Linked DNA regions of Homo sapiens: all the other regions are linked to region 4. Evidence: promoter capture Hi-C in human tissues and cell types (Jung and others, 2019). All regions are on one chromosome and are shown on one strand. The core of a region is centred on a gene start or on the middle of the fragment in contact, and the rest is flanking DNA. Distances in the headings are between cores, read along the strand shown. Region 1 holds the start of SERPINF2 (serpin family F member 2). Region 2 holds the start of SLC43A2 (solute carrier family 43 member 2). Region 3 holds the start of SCARF1 (scavenger receptor class F member 1). Region 4 holds the start of TSR1 (TSR1 ribosome maturation factor).

Evidence for each region. The method cuts DNA at HindIII sites, captures the fragments that hold promoters and counts their contacts. A contact is called where the count stands out against the background at its distance.
Region 1: a contact is called between the fragment with the promoter of SERPINF2 here and the fragment with the promoter of TSR1 in region 4, in 1 of the 25 tissues and cell types used here (dorsolateral prefrontal cortex).
Region 2: the fragment with the promoter of SLC43A2 here is called in contact with the fragment with the promoter of TSR1 in region 4 in 2 of the 25 tissues and cell types used here (H1 embryonic stem cells and small bowel).
Region 3: the fragment with the promoter of SCARF1 here is called in contact with the fragment with the promoter of TSR1 in region 4 in 5 of the 25 tissues and cell types used here (aorta, heart right ventricle, hippocampus and 2 more).

What each region holds. Positions count from the first base shown.
Region 1 is chr17:1,739,485-1,744,362 of GRCh38, forward strand. It overlaps SERPINF2 (serpin family F member 2), which reads left to right and starts at 3,387. Exons shown (of 10, transcript NM_000934.4): 1 at 3,387-3,424. The HindIII fragment of the contact is 23,738 bases long and covers 1-4,878 here.
Region 2 is chr17:1,625,114-1,630,241 of GRCh38, forward strand. It overlaps SLC43A2 (solute carrier family 43 member 2), which reads right to left and starts at 3,721. Exons shown (of 14, transcript NM_152346.3): 1 at 3,681-3,721; 2 at 2,602-2,807. The coding sequence starts at 2,761. RefSeq lists enhancers at 1,894-2,431, 2,432-2,969. The HindIII fragment of the contact is 9,222 bases long and covers 1,397-5,128 here.
Region 3 is chr17:1,642,462-1,647,313 of GRCh38, forward strand. SCARF1 (scavenger receptor class F member 1) reads right to left here and starts at 3,271. Exons shown (of 11, transcript NM_003693.4): 1 at 3,136-3,271; 2 at 2,717-2,778; 3 at 2,373-2,474; 4 at 981-1,506. The coding sequence starts at 3,236. It overlaps RILP (Rab interacting lysosomal protein), which reads right to left. Exons shown (of 8, transcript NM_031430.3): 7 at 4,445-4,528; 8 at 3,689-4,158. The coding sequence ends at 3,981. The HindIII fragment of the contact is 19,188 bases long and covers 1-4,852 here.
Region 4 is chr17:2,333,718-2,338,394 of GRCh38, forward strand. It overlaps TSR1 (TSR1 ribosome maturation factor), which reads right to left and starts at 2,740. Exons shown (of 15, transcript NM_018128.5): 1 at 2,614-2,740; 2 at 2,320-2,423; 3 at 1,794-2,013; 4 at 1,543-1,677; 5 at 755-1,179. The coding sequence starts at 2,710. SGSM2 (small G protein signaling modulator 2) reads left to right here and starts at 3,784. Exons shown (of 24, transcript NM_014853.3): 1 at 3,784-4,028. The coding sequence starts at 3,972. RefSeq lists an enhancer at 2,908-3,017 and silencers at 3,248-3,377, 3,408-3,717, 3,818-3,927, 4,028-4,127, 4,158-4,467. The HindIII fragment of the contact is 7,910 bases long and covers 1-4,677 here.

The DNA of each region.
Region 1 (4,878 bases), core at 2,137-4,636, 590 kb before region 4:
CGGGAAGCGGCCTGATGCAGGGAGTGAGGCGCAGGACAGTGAGGGTGGGAAGGAGCCTGATGCAGGGAGTGAGGCGCAGGACAGTGAGGGTGGGAAGGAGCCTGATGCAGGGAGTGAGGCGCAGGACAGTGAGGGTGGGAAGGAGCCTGATGCAGGGAGTGAGGAGCAGGACAGTGAGGGTGGGAAGTGGCCTGATGCAGGGAGTGAGGCGCAGGACAGTGAGGGTGGGAGGCGGCCTGATGCAGGGAGTGAGGCGCAGGACAGTGAGGGTGGGAAGGAGCCTGATGCAGGGAGTGAGGCGCAGGACAGTGAGGGTGGGAAGGGGCCTGATGCAGGGAGTGAGGCGCAGGACAGTGAGGGTGGGAAGGAGCCTGATGCAGGGAGTGAGGAGCCGGACAGTGAGGGTGGGAAGGAGCCTGATGCAGGGAGTGAGGAGCAGGACAGTGAGGGTGGGAGGTGGCCTGATGCAGGGAGTGAGGAGCCGGACAGTGAGGGTGGGAAGGAGCCTGATGCAGGGAGTGAGGCGCAGGACAGTGAGGGTGGGAGGCGGCCTGATGCAGGGAGTGAGGCGCAGGACAGTGAGGGTGGGAAGGAGCCTGATGCAGGGAGTGAGGAGCAGGACAGTGAGGGTGGGAGGCGGCCTGATGCAGGGAGTGAGGCGCAGGACAGTGAGGGTGGGAAGGAGCCTGATGCAGGGAGTGAGGCGCAGGACAGTGAGGGTGGGAAGGAGCCTGATGCAGGGAGTGAGGCACAGGACAGTGAGGGTGGGAAGTGGCCTGATGCAGGGAGTGAGGCGCAGGACAGTGAGGGTGGGAAGGAGCCTGATGCAGGGAGTGAGGAGCCGGACAGTGAGGGTGGGAAGGAGCCTGATGCAGGGAGTGAGGCGCAGGACAGTGAGGGTGGGAAGGGGCCTGATGCAGGGAGTGAGGCGCAGGACAGTGAGGGTGGGAAGGAGCCTGATGCAGGGAGTGAGGAGCAGGACAGTGAGGGTGGGAGGCGGCCTGATGCAGGGAGTGAGGAGCCGGACAGTGAGGGTGGGAAGGAGCCTGATGCAGGGAGTGAGGAGCCGGACAGTGAGGGTGGGAAGGAGCCTGATGCAGGGAGTGAGGCGCAGGACAGTGAGGGTGGGAGGCGGCCTGATGCAGGGAGTGAGGCGCAGGACAGTGAGGGTGGGAAGGAGCCTGATGCAGGGAGTGAGGAGCAGGACAGTCAGGGTGGGAGGCGGCCTGATGCAGGGAGTGAGGCGCAGGACAGTGAGGGTGGGAAGGAGCCTGATGCAGGGAGTGAGGCGCAGGACAGTGAGGGTGGGAAGGAGCCTGATGCAGGGAGTGAGGCGCAGGACAGTGAGGGTGGGAAGTGGCCTGATGCAGGGAGTGAGGCGCAGGACAGTGAGGGTGGGAAGTGGCCTGATGCAGGGAGTGAGGCGCAGGACAGTGAGGGTGGGAAGGGGCCTGATGCAGGGAGTGAGGCGCAGGACAGTGAGGGTGGGAAGGGGCCTGATGCAGGGAGTGAGGAGCCGGACAGTGAGGGTGGGAAGGAGCCTGATGCAGGGAGTGAGGCGCAGGACAGTGAGGGTGGGAAGGGGCCTGATGCAGGGAGTGAGGCGCAGGACAGTGAGGGTGGGAAGGGGCCTGATGCAGGGAGTGAGGAGCCGGACACTGAGGGTGGGAAGGAGCCTGATGCAGGGAGTGAGGCGCAGGACAGTGAGGGTGGGAAGGGGCCTGATGCAGGGAGTGAGGCGCAGGACAGTGAGGGTGGGAAGGGGCCTGATGCAGGGAGTGAGGAGCCGGACAGTGAGGGTGGGAAGGAGCCTGATGCAGGGAGTGAGGCGCAGGACAGTGAAGGTGGGAAGGGGCCTGATGCAGGGAGTGAGGCGCAAGACAGTGAGGGTGGGAAGGAGCCTGATGCAGGGAGTGAGGCGCAGGACAGTGAGGGTGGGAAGGAGCCTGATGCAGGGAGTGAGGAGCAGGACAGTGAAGGTGGGAAGGAGCCTGATGCAGGGAGTGAGGAGCCGGACAGTGAGGGTGGGAAGGAGCCTGATGCAGGGAGTGAGGAGCTGGACAGTGAGGATGGGAAGGAGCCTGATGCAGGGAGTGAGGAGCAGGACAGTGAGGGTGGGAAGTGGCCTGATGCAGGGAGTGAGGCGCAGGACAGTGAGGGTGGGAAGGAGCCTGATGCAGGGAGTGAGGAGCAGGACAGTGAGGGTGGGAGGCGGCCTGATGCAGGGAGTGAGGAGCCGGACAGTGAGGGTGGGAGGCGGCCTGATGCAGGGAGTGAGGAGCAGGACAGTGAGGGTGGGAAGTGGCCCGATGCAGGGAGTGAGGCGCAGGACAGTGAGGGTGGGAAGGAGCCTGATGCAGGGAGTGAGGAGCCGGACAGTGAGGGTGGGAAGGAGCCTGATGCAGGGAGTGAGGAGCCGGACAGTGAGGGTGGGAAGGAGCCTGATGCAGGGAGTGAGGAGCAGGTGTGAGGGCGGGAAGCGGCCTGATGCAGGGAGTGAGGAGCAGGACAGTGAGGGTGGGAAGGGGCCTGATACAGGGAGTGAGGAGCAGGACAGTGAGGGTGGGAAGGAGCCTGATGCAGGGAGTGAGGAGCCGGACAGTGAGGGTGGGAAGCAGCCTGATCTTTGCACGGGCTGCCAGGCTTCTGGTTCATACAGCCCCAGGTCAGTTTCCAGAACCCTCGCTCTTGGGTAGGGGAAAGAGACATTGCTCTGGAGTGGCAGGACGGTGGGAGAAGTTGAGTCCCTCTCATTTCTCCTCCCTCACCCCCTGCCTTCCATCCCAGTCTGAAGGCAGCCAACCTGATCCTGGGCTTGGAAGGTTGGGGGTGGGCTTCCTATCCTGGGCTCTCTGCATAGGCTCTTGTGGCTTCCCCTTTCCTCCCCTCAGGAGCGGGAGGCAGCTCTCTGGGAGAAGAAAGGACATTGGGAGTGAGAATCTGGATGTGCCTCAGCCCAGCTCTGTGTCCTTGGGCAGGTCACATGGCCTCTCTGAGCCTGGCTGAACCAGGGATAATCCACACCTCGTGGGGTCTCTGGAAGGCTTAACACAGTGCTAGGTTCCTGTGCTTTCTGGATCCGCCCTCTTGGCTAGCCAGATCCAGTCTCTTCAACTCTCTCCTCCTGAACTTTCTCTTTCCAGGCTCGGGGGGGGGGACCCAAATATAGGGGGTTCTGCGTGGCTGCCTCAGGGTTAGATGCCCTGGTGGGAAAGGGGCTTCTGGCTTCAAGATCAATGTTTAACTGGATGTGCAAGTCAATATTTACCAGAAGAGAAAGCAATCTGAACAGGGGTTGGCTGAGAGTAAAGGTCCTGGTGGGAGGGGAGGGGTGGGCTGGGCCAGCTGGAGCCTGGGCAGAGAGTGAGGAGCACCCAAGTGGGGCCAGAGGAACGTTGTGTGTGGCAGCAAGGAGCCCGCAGAGGTATGAGGGGAGGGGCTGCTCGGCCTGCTCCTTGGGTAGGAGAGGAGGAGGGAGCTGCCTCCCTGGCTGAGGGGTCTGGGATTTATTCAGGAGGCCTGTCACTCCCCAGCCTCTTCTGGGACTTGAAAAACTGGAGCCTGTTCTTGGCAAGAAGATTCTAATGCCCAGGTCGGAGTCGGGGCCCTGGCCAAGGGCTCTTGTGTGGGATGGGGGTGGGGCCGGGGGGACCAAAGGATCCTCCAGAAGGGTTGGCCCCAAGATGGGGGTGGGCTGGAGGTAGCTGAGACCTGCTCTGACTTATCCTCCTGAGACCAACACCTGCCCTTCCCAGAGCCAGCCTGGAGCAGAGGCCTGTGATGCTCCTAAGTGCAGAGGTGGCTCTGGCCAGAGTCATTCACTGGGCTCTGCTGCTGGGTCAAAAGGCAGCTCTCTGGCTGCCTTGCCACCCATGGTGAGACCTCAGGGCCTCACAGGTATGTCCAGCCTTGTGGGCAAGACCTGACCAGCCTGAGAAAGACGGGTTGGGGCCAGGCGTGGTGGCTCATGCCTGTCATCCCAGCACTTTGGGAGGCTGAGGCAGGTGGATCACCTGAGGTCAGGAGTTCGAGACCAGCCTGACCAACATGGAGAAACCCTGTCTCTACTAAAAATACAAAATTAGCCAGGCATGGTGGCACATGCCTGTAATCCCAGCTACTCGGGAGGCTGAGGCAGGAGAATCGCTTTAACCCAGGAGGTGGAGGTTGCAGTGAGCCGAGATCGTGCCATTGCACTCCAGCCTGCATGATAAGAATGAAACTCCATCTCAAAAAAAAAAAAAAAAAAAAAAAAGACAGGCTAAATGGATGCAGCAGGCTGGGTAGGAGCTCTGTGTTGGAGCTCTGCGGTGGAGGCTTCAGGGCAGGCTTCCCAGAAGAGGTGGCCTTGAGCCAAGCTGACCCCAGCCATCGGGGGAGTGCCAAGCATTGTACTCAGGGTTTACAAAGATGGTCTTATTTATTTTTTTGAGACAGAGTCTTGCTCTGTCGCCCAGGCTGGAGTGCAGTGGCGTGATCTCGGCTCACTGCAACCTCCGCCTCCCGGGTTCAAGCAGTTCTCTGCCTCAGCCTCCCGAGTAGCTGGGATTACAGGGGCCCACCACCACGCCTGGCTAATTTTGTATTTTCAGTAGAGATGGGGTTTTACCATGTTGGCCAGGCTGGTCTTGAACTCCCGACCTCAGGTGATCCACCTGCCCCTGGCCTCCCAAAGTGCTGGGATTACAGGCTTGAGCCACCGTGCCTGGCCACAAAGATGGTCTTTTGCCGGGTGCAGTGGCTCATGCCTGTAATCCCAGTACTTTGGGAGGCCGAGGCAGGAGGATCACCTGAGGTCGGGAGTTTAAGACCAGCCTGACTAACACAGAGAAACCCCGTTTCTACTAAGAAATACAGAATTAGCCAGGCGTGGTGGTG
Region 2 (5,128 bases), core at 2,471-4,970, 710 kb before region 4:
GAGGCATCCAGCAGCCAACACCTGGAGGACGTTGTGCAAAACCCATTGCCAACTTCCCGCACCCAGGTCCCCAAACCCAGCCTGCCACGTCTCCCAGCAGGCAAGGAAGAACAAACTGCGGGGCAGCCGAGAAATGAGCTGTTTCCTTCCTTCTGCCACCTCACCAGGCTGGAACCCAACACGGTGTCTGTGGCGAGATTCTGGCTGGAGTCGTAAGAAAGAGTTCTAAGAACCTTTCAACAGGTTCAGGCAAATTTTCTTTAGAGAACAAACTAAAGCATCGTCCTAGAGTGACACGAAGCTGACAAATTTGCATCTCAATCAGCCGGACACTGCTCAGGCTTTCACAAGTCTAATTCAATAAATTCAAAAATGGCCTATCTGCTTCTCTGCAATTCAGCCATGCACCAAGTTTGAAAATGTTAGACTGAAGCAGAAACCTTCACCCTAACTTCGCCAGGCACTCCCAGACGAGCCAAATGCGGGGATTTCTGGCCTGAAAGAAAACTGGTGATGCAGACTCCAAGAATCAAGGAGCAGTGTGACCAGAGAGATAAGCTGTGTGGAATCAGCAGCCTTCCCGCCCAGAACGTGGGCTCAGCATGTTTGCCAGATAATAAGAAAAACCAAAATTGGAGGCAGGAGCAAAAGTTCGGGATAAGAAGTTGATGTTCAACCCACAATCCTGACCCTTCACCTTCACTTTGGTTTAGTGGAGTTACCTGTCAAGTCTGCCCAGGGCTTAAAACACCAACTCAGCACTGCGCTGGCACAATCTCTGGGACTCCTCCCACTTAGACAGAGGAGGAAGCTGAGGTTGAGGCAGGAATGAAAGGACCAGACCCAATTCTGCCAAAACCATACAATCAATTAAATCCGTGGACATTCTATTAAAAAAAAACAAAAAACAAAAAACAAACAAAAAACACCTAGAATCTGACCTTCCGACATCATGGTGGGTTAAAAAAAAAACACACAAAAAAACACCTGCCCACAACAGTTCTCTGGTCTGGGTGAGACACTAAAAGCTTTCTCTGGGGACGATGACTTTTTTTCTGCTTTTTTTTTTTTTTTTTAAACCCTGTGTCCAGCCTGAAAGAGCCCACCAGGGAGGCAAGCAGGAAGGGTCACGATCTCTAAGGGGGGAGAGAGGAAAGGAGAGGAAGAAGTAAACACTCCAACCTGTGCCTTTCGGGGACAGGCATTAATCTCCTAACAACTCTTGGCCAAAGCAGAAAGCTTGTTCAGGGAACAAGGTCTGACTCTTCCCAACTCCCAAGATTTCTTGCTGATGTGGGGAAAGACCTGCCAAGAACCCTTAGGCTATTAGGAAATATTTTTGAGTGGCTAAAGGCTAAAGGTTAGTTATAAATGATATACTTTCTGTCCTCTCCCCGCGGCCTCTGCATTCTCCTGCTTTCTCCTGCCCTGAACCTCTCCAGCTAAGCCTCCCTCCCTAGAGACTGGGACACACAGGAATCTCCGGGGCAGATCAGAGAAGGGAAACAGGGAGGCTTCCACAAAGGATTACACCCAGCATGAGCTGGTCCAAAGCTTTCTCTTCCTGCAAAGAGCTCTAGAAAGAAAAGGCCTGCTGCTGGGGATTCAGGAAGTCAAACCTGGGCTACCTCCATCTAAGGGCACTCTAGCACTGGCGACAGGGATTATGTGAGCTCAGCTATTATGCAGCTACCGTTGGGATCAAGGAGAAGGCAGAGGGAAAATTTCCTGTCAAGGTTGCCTAAGAAGGAGGGTAGGAGGCTAGAGGCTGGGGGCTGCTGTGGCCCTCCTGTGGGGCTGAATTTACTGCCCTGTAGTCATCAGGACCCTCCAACAGGGTATGAAGGTGTGAAGGTAAGTGTGTGTTGGGTGGTGCAGATGTCATGTAGAGAAGCATCCTCAGCCTGCCTTCAGCAATTCCAGTGACAAGGCAAAGAGGAGAGAACAACCCTAGCATCATTTCCATAAACGTTCCTTTCTTCTCTTCCCCTTCATCCCCATGGGGTTGGAAAGCCACGGAGATGTCCTCAGAGCCCGTGGGGGAAATGTCCTTTGGAGAATCATAAGGCAGCAAAAATAGACAAGAAATTGTGTCCAGCAAGCACTTAGGAGACTCCACAATGGCCTGAGGAACGTCTAGATTCTAGATGAGCCCTCCCTGGGGTGGAGGCAAGGCCACTTCCTCTCCTGCTGCACCCCAGCCCCTTAATCTGGAGTTCCTCTTTCTCACAAGCAGACAGCAACATGTTTACTACCAGCCAAGCTATGTTCCAGGGCTGGGAGGAGAGGAGAGCAGTCCAGCACTGTTCGTAGCGGGTGGAAGGAACACCCTGGACAGCAGGTGGGGTTCTGGGTGGATGGCAGGCCCAGGCTCTGCGGCCTTGCGCAAGACAGATCGCTCTGAGCCTCGATGTCTTCGTCCACAAAACAGGGGCAATGACAAGTACCCGGCAGGGCTGGGTGAGGATCAGATGGGCCTTCTGATACCCTAGAGGCACTGGGCAATGCGGTGCTGTGGCTCGCTAGGTCTTCGCCCCCATCCCGCCCCCTCCCAAAGCCCCAGCTCCAGGAGCCCCCCGCAACCCCAGGCGCTTGTCTCACCTGGCTCGGTACACAGGTAGGAGTAAAAGCCCTCTGACTTGAGCATGATGAGCAGCGAGCCCCAGCCCAGGAGGACTGCCGAGAAGAGGAGGTTCTCCAGCACGGCCGTGCAGGCCATCCACCAGCGGCGCCGATGGGCAGTGGCCAGGGTGGGCGCCATGGTGCGGCGCGGCGCGGCTCCGGCTCCGGCTCCGGCTCTGCACCACCTGCGCACAGAACTCGGCGTCAGCGGCCGGCCCTTGCCCAGCCCCTGCGGCCGCCCCCAGCAGCCCCGACCGCTGCCGCAGGGCTCGGGATTGCCACCCCTCCCCGGCCGCGGCGGCCGGTGCGCGCAGCAGAGGAAGCGAACCCCAGCCCTGCCCGGACCTGGGACACCCCGAGCCCGCGGCCGGCTCGTACCGCTGCCCTCCGCTACGACAGAGCCGCCCCGGCCAGGCAGGGAGACGTCTCCCGCAGCTCACTCCGAGGTAAACTGAGGCATGGAGGCAAGAAGGGGCTAACGCATGCTCAGGGCCGTGGAACTAGTCCTGGCCTGCAGCAGGACTGACATCGCCTGGGGCCAGCATGGAACGCAGCGTGAGGTGGGCAGGGGCAGATCCGAGGGCTGCCTCTCCCAGGGACCCTGACAGGTGCCCTCCCGCCCGCGCCCGAGACCCTTCCCCAGAGCTGGTTTCTTCAACCACAAGATCAGCGCCCAGACCTACGGAACGGCCCGCCCCGGCGCGCTCATTGGCCGGACGGCGCAGGAACTGCCGCGCCATTGGCCGCCGTCTAGGTCGCTAGGCGCTGCGGCCACGCGAACCCAGCGTGGGAGACGAGGAGCCGGTTCAAACCGGTGGCGCGAGCCAGCCGCGCGACCCCCATCTCGGGCGTTCCCCCGGCAACTCGCCCGTTTCCATGGCCTCGGACCCCCGCGCCTCCATTCCCCAGCCCGCATCTGTTCGTCATCTCTTCCCTGGCGGCCCCTCATCGCTCCATCTCTCTCCTCGTTCCCACGTTTTCTCCCTACGCCCCTTCGGCGGCCGCTTCTGCCCCCGCGCCCTCGCCCCGGCCGCGATCCCCTCCCTGCTGCAGCTCACCCGGCTCCTCCGGCGTGTGTCGGGCCCGCCCGGCGCCTTTTCTGCCCTCTTTTATTCCAGCCCTTTTATTCCGACCCCAAGAAGAAAACACTGCCGCCCGCTGATTGGCTGAGCGGGGCTGGAAACAGGCGTCGACCAATCAGCAGCCAGCCCCCCGCCCGCCCCGCCGCGAGCAGAAGCCGGTTCCGGCCGGACTCGGAGACAAACAAGAGAGATGGGGGACGGGAGGGGCCTGGGCGCTGCGGGCCGGGCCTCGGCTTTGCAGCCTTCAACCCGAGTCACAGCGCGGCCGGGAATCCCCGGCGACATCGCCCCGCGGCCTCTCCAGCGGCCTGACCCTGCGAGGCTGGGGCTCCGGCTCCGCGTCCCGGCCCCCAGCGGACTCCCCCCAGAAGCCGCCGGGCCACCAGCGCCCCCAGCCGGGCTCTCCCGCGGCCGCCCCGCCGTCCCCAGCTGCCCCCTGCGCGCGGGTCACCACGCCCAGATGCGCCGGCTCCGCACGGTGGTTCCACTCTCGAATCCCCACCCCGCCTCCTCCCCACGCAGCGCCGCCGTCCCCGCCGCCTCGGGCTTTGGGTCCTGGTTCCTCGCTCCCCCGCCCCGGTGGTTCCCGTCCCGGCGTATTCGGGGCCTGGGATCCCGGACCCGGTCCAGCCGTGGCGCCCCCCGCTGATGCACCGACCCCTTCCCCTCTCCCCGGTGGCGTCTGCCCGGTCCCTGGAAGTTGGCCCTTGGAAATCTGCAAGGGGATTTGGGGCTGGTCTGTCCCGTCCTAGGATGGGGTCTCCTGAGCTCCCCCCATCAGACTGACCTTTCTCCGCCCGTGTTCACGCACTGCTCGGTCCTCCGGGGACCCTCCACCCTTGATCGTCATCTGGGTGCTCCCTGCCCGCGCTGGCCACCTTCACCCCGTTCCCCGTCCCTTTCAGGGAAGGTCCCCTCTGCAGGGCGATGCTACGGGCCACGTCCGCCAGCTGGTACAAGCTAGGGAGGGTTCGAGGGGGCTCCGGGTCCCCGTCTGATAAGCCCGGGCTCCGAAAGCTCAGCTCCCCGTCTTCGTCCCCCGGATTCGAGGCACTAACCCGACCCGGGAAGACCCTCTGACTGCCCCAGAATCGCCTTGGTCACCCTGGCTCGCTCCGGGGGGCTGGCTTAGCACCCCAGGGCTGCCGCGCGGTGTCCACGTCTGGAATCCCAGCGGTTTGGGAGGCTAAGGTCGGAGGGCCACTTGGGGACAGGAGTTTGAGACCAGCCTGGGCAGCATGGCGAGAACCATCTCTACCAAAATAAAAACCAAAAATAAAACCCCACCACCACCCCAGGGCTGTGGGAGCCCCAAACGCCTCTTGCTCCACCTGCCCCAGTCCGAGTGTGCCCCCTACTGTCTAGAATCCGCCCGGGCCACCTGGCGAGGGCAACCTCCCCCAGACAACGCTTGGAGCTGTCAG
Region 3 (4,852 bases), core at 2,021-4,520, 690 kb before region 4:
ACTGAGAATGATGATTTCCAATTTCTTCCATGTCCCTACAAAGGACATGAACTCATCATTTTTTATGGCTGCATAGTATTCCATGGTGTATATGTGCCACATTTTCTTAACCCAGTCTATCATTGTTGGACTCGATCCACTTATTACCTACATATGGCTTGCTAGCAGTGCTAGTATATTTTGCACAGCAGTAATCAATGAAATGAGCAGGTGAGGCTGGACCTGGGGCAACAAAGCGTTTTTAAAAGTTTTTGTTTTGTTTTGTTTGAGACGGAGTCTTGCTCTCTGGCCCAGGCTGGAGTGCAGTGGTGCGACCTCGGCTCACTGCAACCTCCGCCTCCAGGGCTCAAGCGATTCTCCTGTCTCAGCCTACCGAATACCTGGGACTACAGGCGCAGCCCGGCTAATTTTTGTGTTTTTAGTAGAGACGAGGTTTCAGCATGTTGGCCAGGATGGTCTCGAACTCCTGACCTCAGGTGATGCACCCGCCTCAGCCTCCCAAAGTGCTGGGATTACAGGTGTGAGCCACCCCACCTATCCGACTTTTCCCCTTTCTCGTTCCTCTGCTTTGTATGTTTTTTGAGAGGAGCACCGCGAAGCCCTGACCCCTCCTCCCGGCGCCCCGCCGCGGCCACCTGTCTCCGCTCCGCCCCGCCCGCTCACAGGTCTCCGCGCAGCCTCGCTCACCTGTGTCCGCCTCCGCCCCCTCCCCCGACCGCTCACCTGTGCCCGCCCCGCCCCCACCCTGCCCGCTCACCAGTTTCCACCCCGCCCCCTCCCCGCCCACCGGTGTCCGCCCCGCCCACCGGTGCCCGCCCCGCCCACCGGTGTCCGCCCCGCCCACCGGTGTCCGCCCCGCCCACCTGTCTTCGCCCCGCCCCCTGTCTCCGCCCCGCCCCCCTGTCTCCGCCCCGCCCCGCCTGCTCACTTGTGTCCGCCCCCGCCCCGCCAGCCCACCTGTCCCCGCCCCGCCCGCTCACCTGTGTGCGCACTGCACCCCGTGGCTGCCTGCCGGGCAGGGCAGCTCGCAGCGCGCTCCGCGGAAGCCGGGCGGGCAGGTGCACTCGCCGGAGGCGGCGCTGCAGCGGCCCCGCACACACTCGCACTGCTGCTGGCATTCGGGACCCCACCAGCCCGGCCGGCAGGCGCAGCGGCCGGAGTCCTGCTCGCACGGGGAGCCGTGGCAGTTGCAGCGGAAGCTGCAGCGGCGCCCCCACCAGCCCGGCTTGCACACGCAGGCGCCCGTGGCCTGCTCGCAGCGCGCCGCCGCGGTGTTGCACTGGCACGGGCGGCGGCACGTGGACGACCACCAGCCGGGTTCGCAGTGGCACACGCCGGTCGCGGGGTCGCAGCGCCCGTGGGGGCCGCAGGCGCACGGGAACTCGCAGCGGGCTCCCCAGCGGTCGGCCTGGCACTGGCACGCGCCCGTGGCTGGCTCGCACTGGCCGTGCGGGTGGCAGGGGCAGCTCTCACGGCAGTCGGGGCCCCAGTACTGGCCCGGGCAGCCTGCGGGGGTGGGGACGGGAGGGGTCAGCGGGCTCAGGGCCGCGCGCAGACCCTTACCCTGCGTCCCCTTCCTCAAGGAAAAGGGGCGCTGGGCCCATCCTCCAAGAGCCGGGGACAGACCCTCAGAACATCCGGCAGCCTGTCCTGGGCAACACTCACTTCCTGCTCCGCTCTGACCTACAGAAAACCCTTAGCCATTAGTGGGAGGCTCAGCCTGCCACTTCACATTCCAGAACACACTCAGAGATCCTGAGTGGGCAGGGGACTTGCCCAGAGCGTGGCACCGAGGTTGGTGGGCCTTCCTCCATGCCTGCTCCTCCCTGCCGAGATGGATCTCTGCTGGGCTGGAGGAGAGCTGGCTTTCTCCTGATCTCAGGCCTGGATACTGCCCGCCAGGGTGTCGGGAGAAGCCACCTTTCCCCTAGTGATTCCTTGATTCCTGATGCCCACCCTCTGGCTCTCCTGCTTCCCAACCCCTTTCCCTTCCCTCTCTTTCTGCCAGAGAGGGCAGAGAGCCCAGCCAGGGGCCCCCTTCCATCCACTGCCCATGTATAAGGTATATGTGGGAAAGGCAAGTAATACACTCATTTTACAATGAAGGGGAATCACAGGTTTTCTGAGAAGTGGAAGAGGAAGATGCTCAGGTGGGCAGTGCTTTGTGGATGTGGGTAAAAACCCGGTGACTCAGGTCATCTCCCGGGAGTGTGTGTCACTTCCTGTCTCTGGACCGCAATTCCTCAGTGAAGCTGGGGGGGATTCTGGCCCTGCTGTCCTGAGGCTGCATGGCTACCTGCCTCGCCTGCTCCCACACCACTGCCCCCGTACCCAGCTCTGCCCAGCAACTTCATCTGGCCCTTGAGACTCACGGGAGCTGCAGTGGGCCCCAAAGAATCCAGGCTTGCATCGACAGAGGCCCGGCTTCACACACACCTCGTCTTTCTGGCAGGCGTCCGGCCCCTCACAGATGGCTGAAAGACACCCCACCCAGGTTGGAAAGACGGGAGCAGGACCAGGGGACACCCCTGCCCTCTCACTGGCTCCAGGGGCCATGCCTCCTCAAGAGGTGCCCCTTCAGGCCTGGGGGTGCGTCACAGGAGAAACCCTGACTCCTGGTATCAGGAGGGGCAGGCCCCATGGGGTAGGAAGGAAGGGTTGTCACTGGGCTACGGCCTCCCTTCTCCTTGGCTGAGGGTCTGTCCTGGCTACTCACGGATGGTGCATTCTTGATCCTTCTGCCTCCAGCCTGCGCAGCACTGCAGCTCAGCAGAGGGGCTGTGGGGCAAAAAGGGGTCAGCCGGACATGGTGGGGGGTGCAGCCTGGCCCTGAGGAAGGTGGATCACTGTCTCTGGCTGCAGTGGGGGAGGCTGCCTTAGCCCCCTGGGGAGGCCTAATGGATCTTTACAGCTAGGGTCCCCAGCCCCTCCCCTCTCCTTCCCTGACCCTTCCACCATCTGCCCTGGCTGGCCACTACCTGCCAGACCGCCATCAGCAGTCCCTTCCTTTCAGCCTAAGCCCCCTTCCTAGTCTCCTCCTTCCCCTAACGGCCTCAACACCGGTTCAGCCACCCGCATCAGACTCCCACGAGACCCACCTGCTGGCCACACGCATCAGACTCCCACGAGACCCACCTGCTGGCCACACAGACGTGCTGCCCTTTGGGGTCCAGCTCGGACCCCTGAGTCCCCCGAGTCCAGAGCAGCAGCAGCGGGAGCAGCAGCCCCAGCCCCATGGCAGGCAGCTCGGTGGGAGCGCTCGGGTTCGTCTGGCCCCCACAGCTCCCAACCCCCTCCCTGCTTCCTCTCAGGGCTTTTCCTGAGGAAACCAGGCCGGAGGGGCGGGCTGCCACGAGGCACCTCCCTGAGAGGGAGGGGGTGGCTGGAAAGACTGACACTCAAAAAAAGAAAGGGAAAGAAAGGCAATGGCAGGGCTGACTGGCCTGGGCCTGGAAGGGCCAGAAGAATGAAGTTGCAGGTCCCTGGGTGCCGGGGCCAGGGAAGGGGGTGGACTGAGGCTGGGAGCCACGGCTTTCCATCAGGCCACACTCCCAAAGCAAGGCCTGAGCTGCAAGAAGCCACCCCACCCAGTGACTGAGCAAGGAGACCAGCGAGGACCCCTCAGCCTGCCTCTGCTCCTGGCAGGGTTGGGAGGTGGCACAGACATGGACAGACAGGCGAGGAACAGTTTCTGTGTATTACGGGCAGTTCTTTATTACATGAGCTCAGGCCGTCTGCACAAAGCCCTGGGAGCTAGGCAGTCAGCTCTCATTTCATGGATGGGGAAACTGAGACTCAGAGAGGCACTCTTATATCTGGCCCCAGAGGCTCGGTACAGAGACGTAGAGAGGGAGGCGGGCTGAGACCCCGTCCTGCCCTGATGCAGGCCAGGATTGGGGCAGACCCCTGGCGAGGGCTGTGAAGGCGGGAGCCCTGTCCTCATTTGAGGCCACACATCCTTCCACAGCCAGACCCCTAAGTCAGGCCTCTGGGGCGGCTGAGGCCCCCAGACAAAGGTGTTCGTGGAGGGCAGAACAGGGCGGATCAGGAGCTGGAGACTGTGGTTGGGCCTCCTCTTCTCCCCCTAGCTTGCTGGGTGCAGGGCTGCTGGTCTCATCCTCAGAGGATTCAGCTTTACCCCGATACCATAGGCCAAAGCTGGAGAGAGACAGCCAGAGGCACTTTGAGCCAGGAAGCCAGAGAGGTCAAGGATATGGGTGAGGGCAGGGGATGGTGAGAAAAGGGGAGAGGGGGAAGAAAGGGCAGCCTGAGGGAGTGTGAAGGTGATGGGGGCCAGGGCCAGAGAAGCAGGAGGGGACGGTGTGCTTAGAGCCAAGCACAGCAGGGTGACGGGCAGAGAAGCGGGAAAGGGGATCCTGAGAAGGACCAGCCAGGGCCCTTCCTCCCTCCCCACACTCTTGCCTTTCCCCTTTCCCCAACATACAAACTCTGTATTTTGGACTCCGGGGGTGGGGGATGGTCTCCCTTGTCATCGGAGAGCAGGATCCATGGGCCAGCCTCATCCTCACTGAGACAGAGGAGAGAGGAGAAGTGAGGGCCATTGATCAAGGCCCTGAGGGACAACAGGAATCCAGCAGGGGGGATGGAGGGACTGCAGGGCCCCCGGGGCTGGAGAGAAGGCAACCCTGGGGAGATGCAGGATGTCGAGCCTTTAATTTTTAATTTTTTTTTTTTTGAGACAGGGTCTCACTCTGTCGCCCAGGCTGGAGTGCAGTGGTGCGATCTCAGCTCACTGCAACCTCCGCCTCCCAAGTTCAAGCGATTCTCCTGCCGCAGCCTCCTGAGTAGCTGGGATTATAGGCACATGCCACCATGCCCGGCTAATTTTTGT
Region 4 (4,677 bases), core at 1,490-3,989:
TGAAAACCAAAAGCAGGTGATAGTCAACCATGAACCAAAAATCTCCTAAATCTAACACAGTAACCAGAAAGACCCAGAAATATCAGTCCTCATGTATAAGATGAGTGCGACAGAATGCTAAAACTTGTCAAAACTTTTCCAATGGCTGTTTTCTAATTTCCAGGGTATTTTAAGTCTCTGCTTGGCTCTTGAGGTCTTTCTTAATCTGCTCCCACTCCTATCCATTTATTACGTACCTCACTCCCATCAAGCTGATTTCTTCAAGGTTCACATAAACCCTTTGATCCACCACTGTGCCTAGGTTCATTCTGTCTCTTATCTTCTAGGATATTCTTTTATCCCTCTTCAACTCATAAATCACATTTATCCTTCTCAACACCTAGCTCAAGTCTGATCTCTTATGTGAAGCTTGCTAGTCTACTTTCTCAACTTCCACTGCTGGTCCGCACTCTAACCATATGCTATCTCAATCTTTATTTCACACATGCCATTTTGTTCCAGCCCAATTAAGTCCCTTGAGGAAAGCAACCACATCTTGAGTGTGTTCTATAAACTCAGAGCCAATCACAGTGCAGACTACCTAGAAAGTGCTGGATAAATATGTGATTTATCAACCTATTTATAACTGACTATTGCCTTACTTCAGACTAGCAGTCTCCTCATTCACCTAAGTGTACAGACTATCTTCTCTGAATTTAAGTTTCCTTCCTGTGCCAACTTTCATATGAACATGAATTAAGAATATCAGTCTTACCTCCATTGCCATGTCTGGGTCCTTTTGGGGTTTAATTCCTCTAGGATTTAAAGGGAAAGGGTCTCCGGGGGCATCTATCTGTTTCATCTGGAAATCACCATATCCAACGATATGCAGCAACCTATTGACATTCAGAGTCTGCCCTCGAACATAGCCTGAAATTTTCAAGGTGCCCACCAAGTTATTCTCTTCACTAGGAACAAAATCAACAGCATGGGCAAATAGGTAGGCCCGCCGATCTCGAAAAGCAAGATGCTGTTGCTTCTGGTTAGCCAACTGCCTAAGCAGCATCCCTGCCTCCTGTTGAGTGTCTAACAAGAGGAGTTTGTCATGCGGAAAGCGCTTCTCCACTGCTTTACTTAGCTTCTTCCTGGTATCTATTTGTTTCTTCAGTGGGAGGCCAGAAATCCCCTGGACAGCTAGTGCTGTAAGCGAAAGAGAAAACGCTTCATGACCTACTGCTTCATTACATAAAAATCCCTCTGCAGTTCACAAACAACCTAATAGCTCAGTTGCAAGCCCAGAGATCACTGGGAAGCCCAACACTGAACTACCCTGAAGGAATTTCACAGTGAAATCAAACTTCATATCCTTGTTTCTCTGGGCAAAGGACAGCCAAAAACAAAAAGACACCCTGAGTGATAATCTGTAAACAATGGATCAAGTTTAATCCATATGTGTACATCCCACCACCAGCTGAATATGATCCATCAGTTGTATTCCTGTATCAAATACCAGGCATAGTGCCTGACAAATTAAAGGTGCACAATAAATGCTAACTCACTTACTATAGGTCGGAAGGCCCTGAGCAAAGAGGCAGGAAAGACAGTAATCACCGGTGCTGTCCCAGCCTTCTAGTGGATCAAGGAGGAACAGGATGGTATCAGCTACTTTAGCCATGTCTAACACAACGTGCAGATCCCCTGCAGATAGAAGACACAGTAAGAAGAGGTGGTTGGCACCAGCACATTATTCTAAAAAAAAAAAAAAAAAATACCACTACTCAAACATAATACAAAATATTGGTGTATACTCTAACCTGGCCTTGCTGAGGTGAAAAACCACCGATGTTTCAAGCGGGGGCACAGCAGCATAAAGTTCTGGGTGTTTCCCAATTCATTCAAGTGTACTGTTCCAGTGTCCCTATCTTGAAGCAGCTGCATGGCCTCTGGCAGGGAAATTCTGCTGTGCAGGGGCACCACCAGTACCTGATGAGGAGGGCCATCCTTGCCACCCAGCTGTCTCTTCTCTGCCAGAACCTGAAAATAGAAAGATATCCGAGAACATCTCAGTGTCTCAGTACTTCACTCCAGCATTGCATTTCCACTCCCACAGATGCTCCCCCTACCCAAAACCAGCATCTCTCTAGTAAAAGACCACAGGTATGCCAGCGGGGTGGCAGGAATTCTGACCAAAGCAAAGAATGCTAGACCTGCACGCTCGACACGTGCTCTAGGGCTATGCTCTGTCCCTGGACCCTCCTCCCGGTCTCATTTTCCACTTCGAGGCATTAGCCACCTAGAACACCAGAGAAGCCGCATTCTCCCAAATCCCGCTCCTCTCACCGCCTCCTTCTTCTGCTTTCGGAGCTGGCTGGCGCGATGCCTCTGGTCGACTCTGCTGAGTTCTTTTCTCACCTTCTTGCTTAGGGTTTTCAGTGCCAGACGGCCTGAATGGCAGATTAGAAGGGGCTGGTGTGATCGGCCCCACAAGGTCAAGAAAAGGGACTCCTCTCCGCCCACCTTAGAAAGGGCCTTTCGCGTGGAGCCCAGACGGGAGACAGAAGCTCAGTCTGGGCATGAGGAAAAAGAGTTAATAACGGCCAAATAGCCCTTATTCCTTCTACGTTATCTCCTTACCCTTGCCGTCCCGCTGTGCAGATCCCCGACCCCGATGCCGTCCGCCTTTATGAGCTTTATTCTGCTGCTTGAGCGGGCCGGGGCGGTGGGCCGCCATGCCGCAGCGCGCGTGTACGGAGTCAGCACTGCTTCCGGGCCAGGACAAGCGCTTCCGGTCCCCTCCAAGGGGGCGGGCCCTCCAGGGAGCGGGACTCCCTGCGCCCTCTCGCGAAGGTCTTTTCCAGCAGCTCGTGAGAGCGCCGTGTTAGCGGGTTCGCCAAGCCGCGCTGGGAACTTTTCCCACTTCGCAGTGTGTGGTTGGGGGCTTGAAGGCGCCGGATGTAGACTGTCGAGGCTCGGGCTGTTGGTCTAGCAGGGCTGTTTGTACCCCTTGCATTGTCATTTTTTTGCGCTATAAAGCTGCATCACGTAGAAGCATGTTGACTGGAAGGCTCCATTCGTGCCGAAAAGGCCTAAGCCCTTCCTGTCACCTAGATTCGGGCACGTTGCTCTTCCGTTTGCAACGGCATGTTCTTTATCACTCTGAGCAACCTTTCTTCTCCCTCGATTCCCTAGCGAGGCTTGGGAATCGCGTGGAAGACACTTCTCTCACCTTGCCCGGTTCCGTACCAGCTCAAGCCCGTCCCTGTTACTCCAACCTGCGCCCCGCCTCCCACGGAGCGGCCGGGAAGGACCTTGTGGGACGTGGCGACCCGGCAAGGGGGACTGGCCGCGACCCTCCGGCCGTCGGGCTCGGGCGGCTGCGCTCCCACTAATCTTCCCAGAAACTTGACAACTGCACGGCGACGGCCGGACGGGGATTCAGAGGGGTCACGGGGCCAGGCTGCACCGGCTTCGCCGTGGGCAGGCTCGGACCGCAGGGGACCCCATGCCCGAGCCCCGGCCCTTTCCGTCCCGTCGGGAGAGGGAGCAGGCAGAAGTCAGGGGAGCTTCAGCGGGACCGAGGCTCGCTCTCAGCCGCGGGGCCGCGGGCTCCAGGGCCAGCGCTCACAATGCGGCTTCGCGCCCTCCATGCGGGAGCGGGTGCGTTGCCATGACAGCGACCCCCGTGGCGCGCGCCCGGGTCTGCCGCCCCTAGGCGCGCACGGCCTCTCCCCGCCCCGATCCCCCGTCGCTGTGCGCAACCCCCCTCCGGCTGTGGGAAGGGGCCGGGCCTGCCGCCTGACGTCTGTGCGGGGCTCGGAAGATGGCTGCGGAGCCGAGCACCGGGCAGTGGCTGCGGCGGCGGCGGCGGCGGCGGGCCGGGAGCGCGGCGGGCGGGGGCTCCGCCTTGCGCGTGGGGCGCTGAGCCGAGAGGCGCGGAGGCGGCGAGGGCGCGGGGGCTCTGAGGACCGCTCGGCGCCGCCTCCTGCCACACCATGGGCAGCGCAGAGGACGCAGTCAAAGAGAAACTGCTGTGGAACGTGAAGAAGGAGGTAAAGTCGAGTCAAGAACCCCGGGGGGCTCGCGCCCTGGCCCGCGCGGCCCAGGGGGCAGAAAGGTCCGCGCCCACCCCCCGGCGCGGGCACCCGGGCCGAACCTGGGCCGGGCGGGGCGGGTCCTGGACGGGCTGCGCCTCCTTCCCCTTTCTCGGATGGGGGAGGGCAGCGCCCCTCTGCCCGGGGGACCCGGCCGGCGCTCCCGGCTTGTTTGCTTCGCAGCCCCGCAGCTCCCCGCCCAGTGACGGCAGCGGCGCTGGGAGCCCAAGGCCGGGGGAGGGGTGGCGGCGATGGCGGGGATGGCTGGATCCGGAGCTGCCCATTCAGTGCCCGCGCCGCCAGGGGAGGGGGCGGGGCCCCGCGCGAGCTCCCGCGGCGCAGGTGGGTGTCGTGCGGGCCGAGCTTCCCCACGTCCTAAGTGGGTGTCGTGCGGGCTGAGCTCCCCCTTGTCCGACGTCCGCTGTGCCTCCAGCTACGGAGTGATCGCTGCCGGAGGGGTGCGCCGCACACCTCAGTTTCTCCCTCCACGCCCACCTCCTTAGCCAGGGACCAGGGGCTTGTTTGGAATGGTTTTTAACACTCGGAAGTTTTTCCCTTTTGAGGGAAGCCCCCCTACTTCAGAAAGAGAAGTAGTCCTTCCCTCTAC